2 separate regions of the Homo sapiens genome follow, and region 2 is linked to region 1. The links are contacts of gene promoters, found by promoter capture Hi-C in blood cells and fetal thymus (Javierre and others, 2016). All regions are on one chromosome and are shown on one strand. The core of a region is centred on a gene start or on the middle of the fragment in contact, and the rest is flanking DNA. Distances in the headings are between cores, read along the strand shown.

Region 1 (7,619 bases), core at 2,773-5,272:
AGCACTTTTGGAGGTCAAGGTGGGCACATCACCTGAGGTCAGGAGTTTGAGACTAGGCTGGCCAACACTGTGAAACCCCATATCTACTAAAAACACAAAAATTAGCCGGGCATGGTAGCACGTGCCTGCAGTCCCAGCTACTCAGGAGGCTGAGGCACTAGAATTGCTTGAACCCGGGAGGCAGAAATTGCAGTAAGCCGAGATTGCATCATTTCACTCCAGCCTGGGTGACCAGAGGGAAACTATATCTCAAAAAATTAAAAAAAAAAAATTAATTGAATAAATAAAATAAGTTATTTACAGCCTTTTTTTTTGGAACATTGAAAGGGCAACTAGCTACAAATGAGAGAAATTCAGTGCAATACAGGCCCTTTATACTATAAATATTTTACAGCAGTGAAACGTAAAGAGAGCGCAAAATGTTTTTGCCATTCAGTTCAGTCTACCTCTAACCTTTCCGACTCTTTTGTGAGAACTGATAATAAAACAGAGAATTTTGAAAAGAAAGAAAAAAAAGCTATTTGCCAAAAATATCTCCCTTGGAAATGCATTATCCTCAGAACAGCATCCAGCCCATGCCACAAGACTGAAGGCATTTTCTGCTCTAGCGCAGAACTACTTCTCCAGATCCCCTTCCTCAAGAAATGAAGTCTACTTATTTTTGTTCCACCTCAATAGTTGAGAGTACTGACCCCAGAAACTACAGGAATCAGCAGTATGCTAGAATCAAGATATGCACGAATTTTACCTATAAAATTATCTTCTTTTCTGTGTGAAGGGCAGAAATGAACAGTGTAACCTTTATCCATTCTCCCAGCTTGAGCCAAGATGATACTTCAGACACCCGTGGCAGGCAGCCTAGTTTGTTGTTGTTGTTGTTGTTAAGATCTTTGCAGGAAATCAGTTTACAACCTTGGGATGTTTTTAACTCTAACATGCGCAAAGTCATCTTAAATGTCTCACAAGCTTCCGCTTCAGGAAGTCATCTTTTTTAAACTTACTACCACTGAAAGGCTATTTCTCCTAAAACTGACTTTGCTTGATACAGCAGCGATACCTCATTCTTACACAATGACATTAAAACTTAGGGAAAAAGGAAATACAGCTATAAAGTAAATGACAAAAACTTGAACCCACACACACTAACAAAACTGGTTTAGGGCCTCATTTTAAGGATTCTCACCCTTCCTTTTGCCCAAGAATCTTCTAGGCGGTTTACTAAAAAAGTGGCTGTCCTTTTTCAGACCTCGATTCAGGATTCAGCTTCAGATACGTGGAAACTAGACATTCCTAAAGATTCTCACCACCACATAAAACTAAAACAAGCTCTTTACTGCTCAGGATTACAGGGCAATTTCCAGCAATTACAGTCATTCAGGGATTCTAGGACCTGCCTGAACTGCACGAGACCCTTACTACTTCACACTCTCCATCTCCCCATTGGCTTTTGACATTTTCCCTGCTCAAGGGCCAAGCAGTATTTGAAAGGCTGAGGGAAAGATCGAGACATTAACTTCTCATGGACAGCTCTAATTAAAAAAGAAAATGAAAAACTTGTAGAGTAAGAAATCCATTTTCCTTTAAAAACTACAATTTATGATTAGCTGAGCCTCCTCCCATCACCAAAAGTTGGCATTCCCTCCACTCTACCCAGACGTTCCCTGTTCATAACACTGTTTCATCACGTCATATTATCATTGTGACTTCTTCCTCCACTAGAGGACAAGAGCTGTTTTGTAATCAGCACCCACCACCATCTCTATTACATAGTAGGTGCTTTAAATATGTTCACTGGCTTTTATTCTTGCCCTGTCTCCCAATGGATAATTAATATTCTATTGGATCTGTCCTGGCATAGGTAAAAAGTTATCTTATAGAAATCAGTTACCGGGTTATAGATGATATTCTGTAGGTTGTTTAAGGACAACATCATTCTTTTCCAGCTTCTTGTCGATTGGAGTCTCTTCTGTGTATGACCTAAGATTTTAGGCAAGTTTCATTTAAAGGTTACCTGGATTGAAACTGAGGCACTGGCCCTGTGTAAAGTAAAAATAGAGGAAAAGAAAAGTAAGCATGTAGCATTTTTCTTCATATCCTATTTTAAAATTTAAATTATATATTATGTTACTGATATTTACCAAATAATAGAATATTATTACAATCAACGATCTGCCTCCCATTCTTACCAGTGTGCTCATATACTAAATAATTTTGGATTGTGAGTGTAGGAAATATTGACTTAAAAAATACATCAGTAGAAAATTTCTAACATGGAATTTATTATTAAAAATACTAAAATAGGCCAGGCATGGTGGCTCACACCTGTAATCCCAGCACTTTGGGAGGCCAAGGCGGGTGGATCACCTGAGGTTCAGGAGTTAGAGACCAGCCTGACCAATATGGTGAAATCCCATCCCTACTAAAAATACAAAAATTAGCCAGACGTAGTGGCATGCACCTGTAGTCCCAGCTACTCAGGAGGCTGAGACAGGAGAATTGCTTGAACCTGGGAGACGGAGGTTGAAGTGAGCCGAGATTGTGCCACTGCACTCCAGCCTGGGCAACAGAACGAGACTCCATCTCAAAAAAAAAAAAAAATTTAATTAATTAATGGTAAATACTAATCAAACAGTCCCGTACAATTACCAGAGGTATTCATTTAGATTTTCATTTCCATAAAATGAGAATTACAGTATTCACATCATTGGTTTGTTCTGAGGATTGAGTTAATAAAACAGCGAAAGAGTAAGCGCTATGTTAGCTATTATTATTGTGAATAGAAAGAATTGCTCTTCCTCCTCCAATTTAAACAAATCAAAGTAGGGAAAAATCCAATACTTTTAATACTATTAAGATACGGTTTTCTCTGTTGCTTAAAAAAATAATAATCACAGGGCAGGGGAGTGTTGGAAAGCATCAGCCACATTTTTTAAGATAAAAGCACTCATGGACACTACACTACATTTAATAGCTCCAGGAAAAACTCGACTTTAAGCAGAACTAAAGGGGAAATGAAACCAGAGCTTCCTGTATTTTACTTCCAGCAATTCTGTCATTATACTGCACACCAACAATACACACCGATCAAATCTATCACTTTTTCTTTATTAAGAAAAAAAACTGTATCCCTCTTGGTTTACCACCTAAATATAGCCCCATGTCATTAACTTAATTCGTTAGTCAAAACCTCAAAACTCTGGCTCCGTGACTCAATTCAGGAAGTAAGAACAAGAGCAAAAAGAATGGATGCCGAGTTGCCATACACATGTATAATAACAAGCCAGTGACCCAATTTAAGCCATCTGCTTGCATTAAATCACGCAACCCCCGAAGTATCCCCAGGGACAGGTCCCGCCAGCATGAACACTTCGTATGCATCACAAGCAGCCATCACTTAAGTTTCACGTACGGTCAAAGGAAGTCACATGACTTGCGCTTTGCAATGTTTAACACTGCAGTCAAATGACTCGGCATCCTAAAGAGCGTGTTAGAGGCAGGGAACGCAATGGAGGTCACTCCACTGTCACTACAAATTCCGGGAAGGAAACTTCCCCAGATTCCTCCACTTGGAGGTGGCGCTCGGCCTCAGGCTAGGAGGGAACAGGTGAGAAAGCAGCCCAGGTGGGGTGGGTTTGCAGCGAGGAGACACCCCAGGGCAAACAGCCTGACCCCAGCCAGGGATGTCCAAGAAAGGCCGCGACTCCTGATAATCCCTTATGCCCCGGAGCGCCTCGCCTGCAGAGGCAGCGTCCCCGCCACCCAGCCCCGGCTCTGCCGCGGTGAGGACCGGCGGGTCGGGGTGGACTGGACACTGTCCCACCCATCAAATGGTGATTTAGGAGCCGTGACATCCGAATGCCATCCTCCACTGGCGAGACCCTCAGAGCAGCCACGCCTCTAGCGACTGCCCCGCCACCCGAGGCCGGGGGTCGCGCGACTCACCCAAAGACTGGTGTTTCAGGCGCTCCACGGAGCAGGTTGTTTGTCAGCAGCTAAGTGCCGTCAGGGTTCCCGGCTCTGGCGTCCGTGGGCGGCTACGGGAAGCGACAGGAGTCAGTCCTCGTTCACTTCCCGGCTCGCGCGCCTCACTGCTGTGGTCTCCCCACCCTCCCCGCGCCCCGCCTTCTGTGTCTGGGGCGTCCCTGGCGGCTCTGCTGGGTTTTGGACAGGGACCCGCCGCTGATCGCCACCCAGCTCGGCCTCCTGCACAGCCTCTGGAGCCTTGGACCGCGACTGGCTTGCTGTGGGACGAGCACAGAGGGATAAGGACAAAGAATGTGTCCTGGGTGGATCTGGCTGCCTTTGCCCGGAAGGCGGAGTGGGGTGGGAGGTGGTAGGAAAATGGGAAGGAAAGAAAAGAAAGGTGGGCCGACGTCCACCTGGCTGTTCCAGGCCTCCAGGTCTAGGAGGGAGGGCGCTCGGGGCTGGGACTTTTCAGGACCAGGGTGGTCACCGCACAGGCCCCGCCTGCCTGGACCAAGCGCTGGCCTTCCCGGGGCGCCCAGGTCCACGGGGTCAACGCCAGGGTTTTCTCAGCTTCCTCGTCTGCCTCGGATCCAAGTCCAGACAGTGCCAGAAGAGACTTGGAGGCGCTGCTTTTTGACAGTACACACCTCTGTATGCAGGTGAAACGGTGGGGGAAGGGTTCAGTACGCTGGACTGTGCCCAGCCCAAGCTCCCCATCCGTTAGTGATAACTTGGACTCGCAGCCACTCCGCGTCACTCGCCAGTTATCCTGCGTGTGGGTGTTTTCTCCAAATTGGACACTTAGGGAACAGTTTAAGCAGTATGGAGCACAATTCTGTGCCTATTAGATGCTCTTAAATACCCGACTTCTCAGGGCCCTACACTGACTGATAGTTTGACCTATTGGCTGTAAACACACCAGCCAGAAATACAAATAAAGTTAAACAAAGTCATGTCAGCCACTTGGAATGGCTGGCTGCTTACTGTTTATTTTCTGTTAGGGACCTCAAAGTTCTCATCTTCTCTACTTGGCTTTTATCCACATTTGTTTGGAAAGATATATTTTAGTGTCATTAACGTGGGCTTTCTCCTCCCTGGCTTTTGTTTTCATTATTTTTTGTTTTAATTGAGGAATTCATTACAAGTCCCATAACTGGGAACTCATGTTCTGATTCACTGTTGCTTTTCTCTCCTCCTTACCCATTTTCCAAGCCTGATGCACTTCTCAAGATCCAATCTGAATAGGTGAATTTACCCTTGACATACACTGCCTTGGATTTATAGCTGTCTTTTGGTATGTGTTGTGTGTTTTATCTATCCAACTCGACTGTAGTTTGAGAAAAGGAACTTGTCTTATACAGTCTCCAGTGCATAGTGTAATGCTTTGCATAAAATAGATATCAATGTTAGGTTGAAATGTTAGATTATTGATAAAGTCAGGAGCAATTGAATATCTTCACAATTCTGCCTGAGTCTCCCCCCAGCCCCGCCACTTTGAGACAGGGTTTCCCTCAAGTGATCCTCCCACCTCAGCCCCAGGAGTAGCTGGGACTATAGACGCACACCACTATGCCCAGCTAATTTAAAAATTTTTTTTTGTAGAGACAGGGTCCACTGTGTTGCCCAGGCTGGTCTCAAACTCCTGGGCTCACAATATCTTCCTGCCTTGGCCTCCCACAATGCTGAAATTACAGGCATGAGACACCAAGCTGGGCCCTGAGTCAACCTTGTACTTCTTTACAAAGCTAAAATAAGTTGAAATAAGTACACATAAATGCTGTGTTTCTTTTGTAAGTCATATTTAGGTGCAAACGGGGCTGAGTGAAAGGGCCAGAGAGCAGAGTTAACAAAGAAAATCTGGATTAAAATGTTCATAAATCCTAAGAACTTATTCCTAGAAATATCTCCCTCATTTGGCACTGTTGTTCAATTAGCCCAGTGTGTTATTTTAAATAAGCAAATATTCACTGAATGCCTATCATGGCCAGGCACAGCAGTAAAGAATACTAGCATGCAAAGGACCTCATGGGCCCTTCTAGATAGAGTCCCACATCTCTTACATTATTACTGCAGTATCCTAATCGGTCTCCCTATATTTGCCCTTGCCCCTCTGCAATGTAGTCTCAACACAACAGCCAGAGAAGTCATGACAAAACATAATTCAGATCATGTTAATCCCTTACTAAAACCTACTTTTTTTTTTTTTTGAGGCAGTCTCACTCTGTTGCCCAGGTTGGAGTGGAGTACAGTGTTACATTCTCAGCTCACTGCAGCCTCTGCCTACCGTGTTCAAGTGATTCATGTGCCTCAGCCTCCTGAGTAGCTGGGACTACAGGTGCGCGCCACCATGCCCAGCTAAGTTTTGTATTTTTAGTAGAGATGAGGTTTCACCATGTTGCCCAGGCTAGTCTTGAACTCCTGACCTCAAGTGATCCGCCCGCCTCGGCCTCCTGTAACCTGGGATTGCAGGTGTGAGCCACTGCATCCGGCCAACCGTCTACTAATTTTTGCTCATTCTTTGAGTAAAGATCCAGTTCTTACACGAGCACTTCCTGATCTGCCCGAATCCTCACACACTGTGATTTCATCTCCTACTACTTTCCTTCTCACTTTTTCTGCAGCAGCCACAGCGACTTTGCTATTCTCCTAGCAGGCCTGTCACACTCCCATCCTAAAATCTTTACTCAATATTTCCTTTTCCCTTTTCAAGTCTACTCAAATGTCAGTTCTCAGTGGGGCCCTTCCTGACCACCAATATTTAAAATTGCAAACACTCTCCCAAAACACACTCATACACACTCCCTAGCAACTCTTCCTTGCTTTATTTCTGGCTAACATTTGTCATGCTAATATACTATATAAGGTGCCTTTTTATTTTATGTTACTTCACCCATCATAAGACTATAAACTCCATGAGGGCAAGGAGTTTTGATTGTTCTTGTTTCGAGGAAGCTTATACTCTAGTTGAGGACACATACAGTGATGTGTTTTAGAGAAGATTAAATTGGGAGCACCTGAGTGGCAACCTTAGTTGGGTGACAAGGAAAGTCTCTCAGAGGAGTCAAAGTTTAAGCTGCTGGTGAGTGAAAGAAAGGAAACAGCCATATGAAGATGGTGGGGAAGAGCATTCCAGCCTTAGCGAGCAGCTGCTGCAAAGTCCCTGAGGGTCTTGAGAATGCATTAAATGTGTTCAGGAAACAAAGGCCACCAACCAGTATGGCTGAAGCATGAGGGAAGAATGATATGACATCATGAGATTGGATGGCACCACCTAGGAGAGTAGTGGGAGAAAATCACCTCGGACAGCCCTGGGGAGATAAGACAACGCCAATAAATGAGACTGAGAAGGGACAACCAGGGGAATTTGCTGAGAGTGGTGTCACAGATGCCAAAGAAAGAGAAACAGCCTGTGTGCCAAGTGTGCTGAGAGGCCAAGGAGGACGGAAGTAAGCAATGGGCTTAGGAACATGGATGTCATTGCTGACTCTGACTCTGAAGTGTGTTGAGAAATGGGAGGTGAAGAACTGGTGGAAACCATGACTATAAAGATTTCAGAAAGGTTTGCTGTGAGGAGGAATGGAGAAGCAGCATTATAGCTGAGGAAGGAGTGGAGCAAAGGGCAGATTCAGGTTTTCTCCTGTTGTTTTTTTTTT
Region 2 (7,619 bases), core at 2,921-5,420, 550 kb after region 1:
TTTAAAAAAGAAAATCTTCCTCTATCTTTTCTGAATGAAGAGATTTAATGTTGGGAGGCTGATTCATGATAGACAGACAGACAGCCACTTAATAATCTGCAAAACCTGTGGAGCCCAGAAACTCTTATCCCAGTATTATGAGAGCTAGTATGTTTCTCAACCACAAAAAACCTTAGGGGTTGTAATTTACCTAAAAATGAGTGCAGTGTCTCACACCTGTAATCCCAACACTTTAGGAGGCCAAGGTGGGTGGATCACTTGAGGCCAGGAGTTTGAGACCAGTTTGGGCAATACAGGGAGACTCCATCTCTGCAAAACATCAAAAAAAAAAATTAGCTGGGCATGGTGGCACACACCTGTAGTCCCAACTACTCAGGAGGCTGAGGTGGGAGGATTGTTTGAATCCGGGAGGCCAAGGCTGCAGTGAGCTATGATCGTGCCACTGCACTCCAACCTGGGCAACAGAGTGAGACCCTATCTCAAAAACTTAAAAAAAAAATAAAAAATAAATTATATTATAGATTTCAAGCCACCCTTTTGGATATTGTTTTCATTGAGAAAATATATTCTACAAGCAGGCAATAGAAAAAGTTTTCTGATTCAGCTCTGGAGATAAGCTATGTTTTAATTCTCTTTTTACCTCCAGAAGGAAGAAAGATGCTTTCCTGGCACTGGCTATGGAGTGAGACCCCTGGTCTGTTCTAAGCTGCCACCAACAGGCAGTGCCACTCATGCTGGCCCCTGGGTGGGATGAGAATGGCCTCTGAGTTGAACAGAGTGAAGGGGGCTCAGAAGTTGCAGGAATGAGGTGTCCAGAGCTCAGTTGTTGCAGAGAAGGGAATTGGCACCATCAGTGGAGCCAGTATACAGCCTGCCAGTGTGAATTTCTTGAAAGAGACAACTTACATATGTTAGGGCTAAAACTTCCAGTGTTTTATGCTGGCCATAAAATCTGGTTACTCAAAGACGATATCAAGCTCCATGGTGGAGATAAGAAGCTCCTGGAATCTATCCCTCCATTAAAACAATTGAACTGGCAAGAGCTGTCTGATGCAACTATTTTGGAATTCAGGATCTTAGGGAACACTTGCAGCACCCAGGAGAAAGCTTGATGAGGAGGCTGGCAAGTTTTGGTCAATTTCAGCTCTTTACTTAGTGGTGACTACCACCCACCTTGATCAGCCCCAGGGCAGTCAGTTGTGGGGACAGCAGCTCAGGTACTTAGTGTGGCTTGCTGGAGCCAGGTTGGACAATAAAGACCCAGTTTTCCAAAAACCAAGGTTGTGGGTTCTGATTACTGATTGCTGCTTTTGATCCTTGAGGGGCTAGCATATAGGGAAAAATTTTCATGATACTGGGTTTGTCAAACATTTCTTGGACATATCAAAAGCACCAGCAACGAAAGAAAAAAACAGGTAAGCTGGACTTCATCAAAATTAACATTTTTGCATCAAAGGATACTATCAAGAGAGTAAAAAGACAACCCATGGAATGGGAGAAAATATTTGCAAACTCTATATGTGATAAGGAATTAATATTCAGAATATAACTACATTTCAACAACAAAAGCAAACAATTTAAAAATGAGTAAAGGATTTGAATAAACATTTATATGAAGAAGATATACAAATGGCCAATAAGCATATGAAAAGATGCTCAATATCATTAGTCATTAGGTAAATGCAAATAAAAACCACAATTTGACACCAGTTTACAGTATTAAGATGGCTTTTATCAAAACAAAACAAAACAAAACAAGTACTGGAGAGCATCTGGAAACGTTGTCCGTTGCTGATGGGAATGAAAACAGACAGCTTGGTGGTTCCTCAAAAAGTTGAATATAGAATTACTATATGATCCAGCAGTTCCACTCCTAGGACTATACCCAAAATAATAGAAAACAAGGGCTGGAACAGATGCTTCTGTGTTACTGTCCATTGCAATATCATTCACTGTAGCCAAAAGATGGAAACAACCCAAGTGTCCATCAACAGATGAATGGATAAACAAAATACGTTATGTACATAAAATGGAATATCACTGAGCCTAACAAATGAAATCCTGATACATGCTACAACACAGATGAACCGTCAGGACATTATGCTGTGGGAAATAAGCCAGACACAAACTATCAAGCAATATATGCGCTTCCATTTATATGAGGTATCTAGAATGTACCAATTCATGGAGACTGAAAGTAGATCAAAGGTTACCGGGGGCTGTGGGGAGGTGGAATGGAGAGTTATTGCTCGATGGCTACAGAATTCTTACCTGGGAAAATGAAAAGTATTGGAAATAGTGGTGATGGTTGCACAATATTGCGAATGTAATAAATGTCAGTGACTTGTACACTTAAGAATTATTAATGGCTGGGCACGGTGGCTCACGCCTGTAATCCCAGCACTTTGGGAGGCCAAGACGGGCGGATCACAAGGTCAGGAGATCAAGACCATCCTCGCCAACATGGTGAAACCCCGTCTCTACTAAAATGTAAAAAATTAGCCGGGTGCGGTGGTGCGCACCTGTAGTCCCAGCTACTCAGGAGGCTGAGGTAGAGGAATCGCTTGAACCCGGGAGGCGGAGGTTGCAGTGAGCTGAGATCGTGCCATTGCACTCCAGCCTGGCAACAGAGCAAGATTCTGTCTCAAAAAAAAAAATTATTAACATGGCAAATTTCATGATATATACATATTTTACAATTTTTAAAATTAATAATGTAATATACCCAAAACCATTGCAGGTACACTTTGGGTGAATTACATAGCATGTGAATTATATCTCAATAAAGCTGTTTTGGGTGGGCACAGTGGCTCACATCTGTAATCTCAGCACTTTAGGAGGCTGAGGCAGGAGGACAACTTGAGGCCAGTAATTTGAGACCAGCCTGGGCAATATAGTGAGACCCCCATCTCTACAAAATCTTTTAAAAATTAGCCGGGTGTAGTGGCAAGTGCCTGTAGTCCTAGCTACTCAGGAGGCTGAGGCAGGAGGATTGCTTGAGCCCGGGAGTTTGAGGTTACAGTGAGCTATGATCATGCCGCTGCACTCCAGCCTGGGCCACAGAGCAAGACCCTGTCAAATAAATAAATAAGCTGTTTTTTAAAAATCACTGTAATTAAAAACAAAAACTCCTGGATACCTAAGGTTGGCAAAATGCTGATCGTTGTTGTGGCTGGCCGAATTCTAAAGATTTCAAGATTCTAATTTTGTACTGCTCTGAAGGGACTTTGCAGATGGAATTTAGATGACTAAGTAGCTGACGTTAAAACAGGCAAATTATCCTGGGTTATCCAGGCAGGCCCTTAAAAACAGAGGAGGGAGGCAGAAGAGTCAGAGAGATAAGGCAGAAACAGAAAGCGGGAGAGGAGAGGGTGAAGGGGGAGAGGGACTATTTACACTTCCCTTTAGGTTACAGGCACAGAGAAACCTTTAGGCTGAACTTAAAATATGTGAGTAGCTTTAAGCTAAACTTGATTTAACAGGGAAAAACAGGACTTTGCAAAAATTCTTTTAGGGAGTGTACTATCGAGCACATTTGAAGACCACAGGTCTCGAAAGCGGGGAAGACGGGACCCAGAGTCCCCCGCAGCAGCGTCACGGCCCAGCTCTGGTTCTCAAGTTGGGCTGCTGTTTTTCCCCTTTTTCTCATCCGCCAGGATGCCAGGCGCTGCTGAAAGCTGCAGCCGAAAGGATTTAGAATTCCTTACAACGGAGAAAGGGTCTTTGCTCAGACAACATGGACTTAAGAGACGGAAGGGCCAAAAAGGCTTGAAAACAGGCTCGAAGAGCGGCTTCCTGGTAGCTAGAAGCTTAAGTGGGGACAGATGAGCTTAACTGGCAAGCCTGCGTGTGTGCTCTCCAGCCCCCGTGATTCAGTTTAAATCTGGGCGGGTCTCCTCAAAGACAGTTCCAGAAGGGGCCACGTGAGGGCAGTAAGAGCCTCTCAATGCCTGTTTTTGGGGGAAGAGAGAAGTGAGGGCGGAGCGCGGGGAGCGTCCCAGGCCTGGCTACCCGGATAACTTCCCCAAAAGAAGCTATGCTCGGGCCTTCCCATCGTCCCACTCAAGAGCTTTCTTCATATTGGTGAGTTGCCCAACTGCTAGCAAAAGAACTTCCCAATTATGGTCAAGCCTCTTCATCTAAATTCAGATTTCCACCAAATAGCCCAGCCCTTTTCCTCCCCAAGTCATCTCCTTACTCAAACATTTGCAGACATTCGTCACACGAGATCCCCAGCCGTGGGCTCAGCATCTTACACCGAGGTACGAAAACACAGAAGTATTCCTGAGTGTATTCTGTGTATGCAAAAGTGCATACGTCTCCTTATGGACCAGGTTCTGAGTGAATCTAAGTGGAAAACACGGAATAGCAGGCTAATTCCAGAAAATGCAGGGCTTTTGCAAATAAGTGGGCGTCTAGTCACTAAGCAGGTAGTAATAACAGGTGATGCTAAATGATTGCTTCGAACCACTTTGTTAAGGGGATCAGAGAAGGGAGAAGGCTCAGGAGAGAGAGTGCAGCAAGAAGCTTTTATTAGCTGGATGGAAATGGGAAAACTAACTCAGGATAACCTTATGTAGTAGAATTTATTGTGCCCATTGAGTAAGTCAGGAAACTGAGGGTTAAGGAGGTGAAGTAACTTGGCAAAGGTCACGCCGTCAGAGCAGAGTCCAGTTCCAGATTTGGTTTACTCTAAATACCCTTCCTCACCCCCCTTTTTAAGAAATACCTTAAATGAAAATTTATTTTTACTTTATCTTACATTATTATTTATTTGTATTCAGCACATTTTCATTTAGAAAGTTGGAAAATAAAGGCACAAGAAAAACAAATAACAGTAATTTCATTACTCAATAATGGCCTCATCACTACAATCTTGTCCAGAAATGTTGTAAACACACACACACAATACTTTTACATATATTTTTGTAAGATATATATATAACAAAAAATGTGATCCTGTGATACTTTTCCGTATTTTTGTTTTCCATTTAAATAAATGTGCATATGAACATTACTTTGATCAACTACATAATAGTATCATACTCTATTATATGGACAATAAACTCTCACCAGTTCATTTATTGATGAACTTTTAGGGTGTTTCTATGTGTTTTTTGATGTGATAAATAACAATAAACCAATAAACACCCACATACTAATATCAGTGTCCTTTTTTTTTTTTTTTTTTTTTTTTTGAGAGTCACGCTCTGTTGCCCAGGCTGGAGTGCAGTGGTGCAATCTCAGCTCACTGCAACCTCCGCCTCCCGGGTTCAACAATTCTCCTGCCTCAGCCTCCCGAGCAGCTGCGACCACAGGCATGTGCCACCATGCCCAGCTAATTTTTTATATTTGTAGTAGGGATGTGGTTTCACCATGTTATCCAGGATGGTCTCAATCTCCTGACCTCATGATTCACCCGCCTCGGCCTCCCAAAGTGCTGGGATTACAGGCATGAGCCACCACGCCCGACCCTCAGTGTCCTTATTAATATCTTTAGGATAAATTTCAACTCAGGATTATTTAAAAATTTAAGACTTTCAATAGATACTCCCCAACTGCCTTACAGAAAGTTTGTACCACTTTATACTTCCACCAGCGGGAGTGTTGGAGAGGGCCCGTTTACCTATGTTTTTGCCTTTGCATAGTTTATTTTTTCATTTTTGCCAATTACATAGGTGGTGTTTGTTTATTAAAATTTACATTATTGGCTGGTTGCAGTGACTCACGCCTGTAATCCCAGCACTTTGGGAGGCCAACATGGGAGGACTGCTTGAAGCTAGGAGTTTGAGGCCCATCCTGGGCAACATACTGAGGCTCAGTCTCTAAAAAGAAAAAAAATTACACTCTTTAAGTTGCGGTAAACTTTTGAAATGCACACTAGCCACTTAAAGTTCTTTTGTCAATTGTCCTTCTAGTCCTCAGTTCTTTTTTCTAATTGGGAGAATCTCACTGATTTATAAGTGTCCTTTACATTTTAAAGCTAATTAACCTTTTGTTGTCTATTTTGCAAATAATATTCCCCAAGGGTTTGTTGTTGTTGTTGTTGTTTGTTTGTTTGTTTGTTTTTTTGAGACAGGGTTTTGCTCTGTTGCCCAGGCTGGAGTGCAATGGCGTGATCTTGGCTCACTGCAATCTTGGCTCACTGCAACCTCTGTCTCCTGGGTTCAAGCTATTCTCCTGCCTCAGCCTCTCCAGCAGCTGGGATTACAGGCATGTGCCACCACACCTGGCTAAGTTTTGTATTTTTAGTAGAGATGGGGTTTCACCATGTTGGCCAGGCTGGTCTTGAACTCCTGACCTCATGATCTGCCAGCCTCAACCTCTCAAAAAGTGCTGGTTACAGGCGTGAGCCACTGCGCCCAGCTTTTTTGTTGGTTTTTTGTTCTGGGGGATTTGGGGACATACGGAAGGTTTTAATCTACATGTAGTCAATTCCTGCTCAGTACGAATTAGAACAAAAGTACCAGCCAAGAAGTCATGAGGCGGAAAATGTCCAGGCTGCACCCTGTGGCATATGGTATTTTCCAAAATGGCCTGAACACAATCTCCCACCCCACATATTCTTACAATGGTGTGTCGATGTGATATTGACATTCCTCTCACCAAGAACTAGGGCCTATGTCCCTCTCCTTGAATCTGGATGGGCCTATGACTATAGCAGAGGGGATGACATGTGGGTTCTGAGGCTGGGTCATACAAGGTGAAACAGCTTCCGTCCAGTCTTCTTGGGATTCTCTCTCTCCGGTTCTGTGATAGGAGGAAGCTCAGGCCACATGAAGAGGCCATGTGCCTGGGGTGGCAGCTCCAACTGTAGCCTCAGCCTACAGCAGACATCAATCACTAGACATGCAAACAAAGAGACCGCCCCCGTGACTCCAGCCCAAGCCACTGTCTGACCGCAGTCTCACAAGAATGGTCCAGGAGACCCCAGTCAATTTCAGACCATGAGAGAGAAAACAGGCTGAGCAGCCCTAATCCAAAATTTATAAAATCTGAAATACTCCAAAGTTCAAAACTCTTCGAGTGCCGATATGATGCTCAAAGGTCATGCTCAAAGGAAATGAATATTGGCACATTTTGGATTTCTCATTTTTGGATCAGGGATGCTCAACTGGTGAGTATAACGCAAATATTCCAATATTTAAAAAAAAATCCAAAATCCAAAACATTTCTGTTCCCAAGCATTTTGGGTGTTTTTTTCCATAGGTAATTGGGGAACAGGTGGTATTTGGTTACATGAATAAGTTCCTTAGTGGTGATTTGTGGGATTTTGGTGCACTCATCACCCAAGCAGTATACACTGCACCATATTTGTAGTCTTTTATCCCTCACCCCCCTCCCACCCTTCCGCCCAATCCCCAAACCCATTGCATCATTATTATGCCTTTGCATCCTCATAGCTTAGCTCCTAGATATCAGTAAGAATATACGATGTTTGGTTTTCCATTCCTGGGTTACTTCACTTAGAGTAATAGTCTCCAATCTCATCCAGATCACTGTGAATGCCATTAATTCATTCCTTTTTTTGGCTGAGTAGTATTCCATCAGATAGATAGATAGATAGATAGATAGATAGATAGATAGATAGATAGATAGATGATAGATATCTAGATGAG

What was found. Contacts are between HindIII fragments. The CHiCAGO score rates a contact against its expected background, and 5 or more counts as called.
Region 2: a contact is called between a fragment that was not itself captured here and the fragment with the promoter of LGALS8 in region 1, in 3 of 17 cell types (total B cells, fetal thymus and activated CD4 T cells). The highest score is 5.8, in total B cells.

The regions. Positions count from the first base shown.
Region 1 is chr1:236,520,385-236,528,003 of GRCh38, reverse strand. It overlaps LGALS8 (galectin 8), which reads right to left and starts at 4,022. Exons shown (of 10, transcript NM_201544.4): 1 at 3,943-4,022; 2 at 1,889-2,036. The coding sequence starts at 1,933. LGALS8-AS1 (LGALS8 antisense RNA 1) reads left to right here and starts at 3,496. Exons shown (of 1, transcript NR_034040.1): 1 at 3,496-4,935. RefSeq lists a silencer at 3,680-3,729. The HindIII fragment of the contact is 5,952 bases long and covers 969-6,920 here.
Region 2 is chr1:235,968,225-235,975,843 of GRCh38, reverse strand. It overlaps LINC02768 (long intergenic non-protein coding RNA 2768), which reads left to right and starts at 3,333. Exons shown (of 3, transcript NR_183724.1): 1 at 3,333-4,083. NID1 (nidogen 1) reads left to right here. Exons shown (of 20, transcript NM_002508.3): 20 at 1-14. RefSeq lists an enhancer at 3,745-3,794 and a silencer at 6,609-6,809. The HindIII fragment of the contact is 718 bases long and covers 3,812-4,529 here.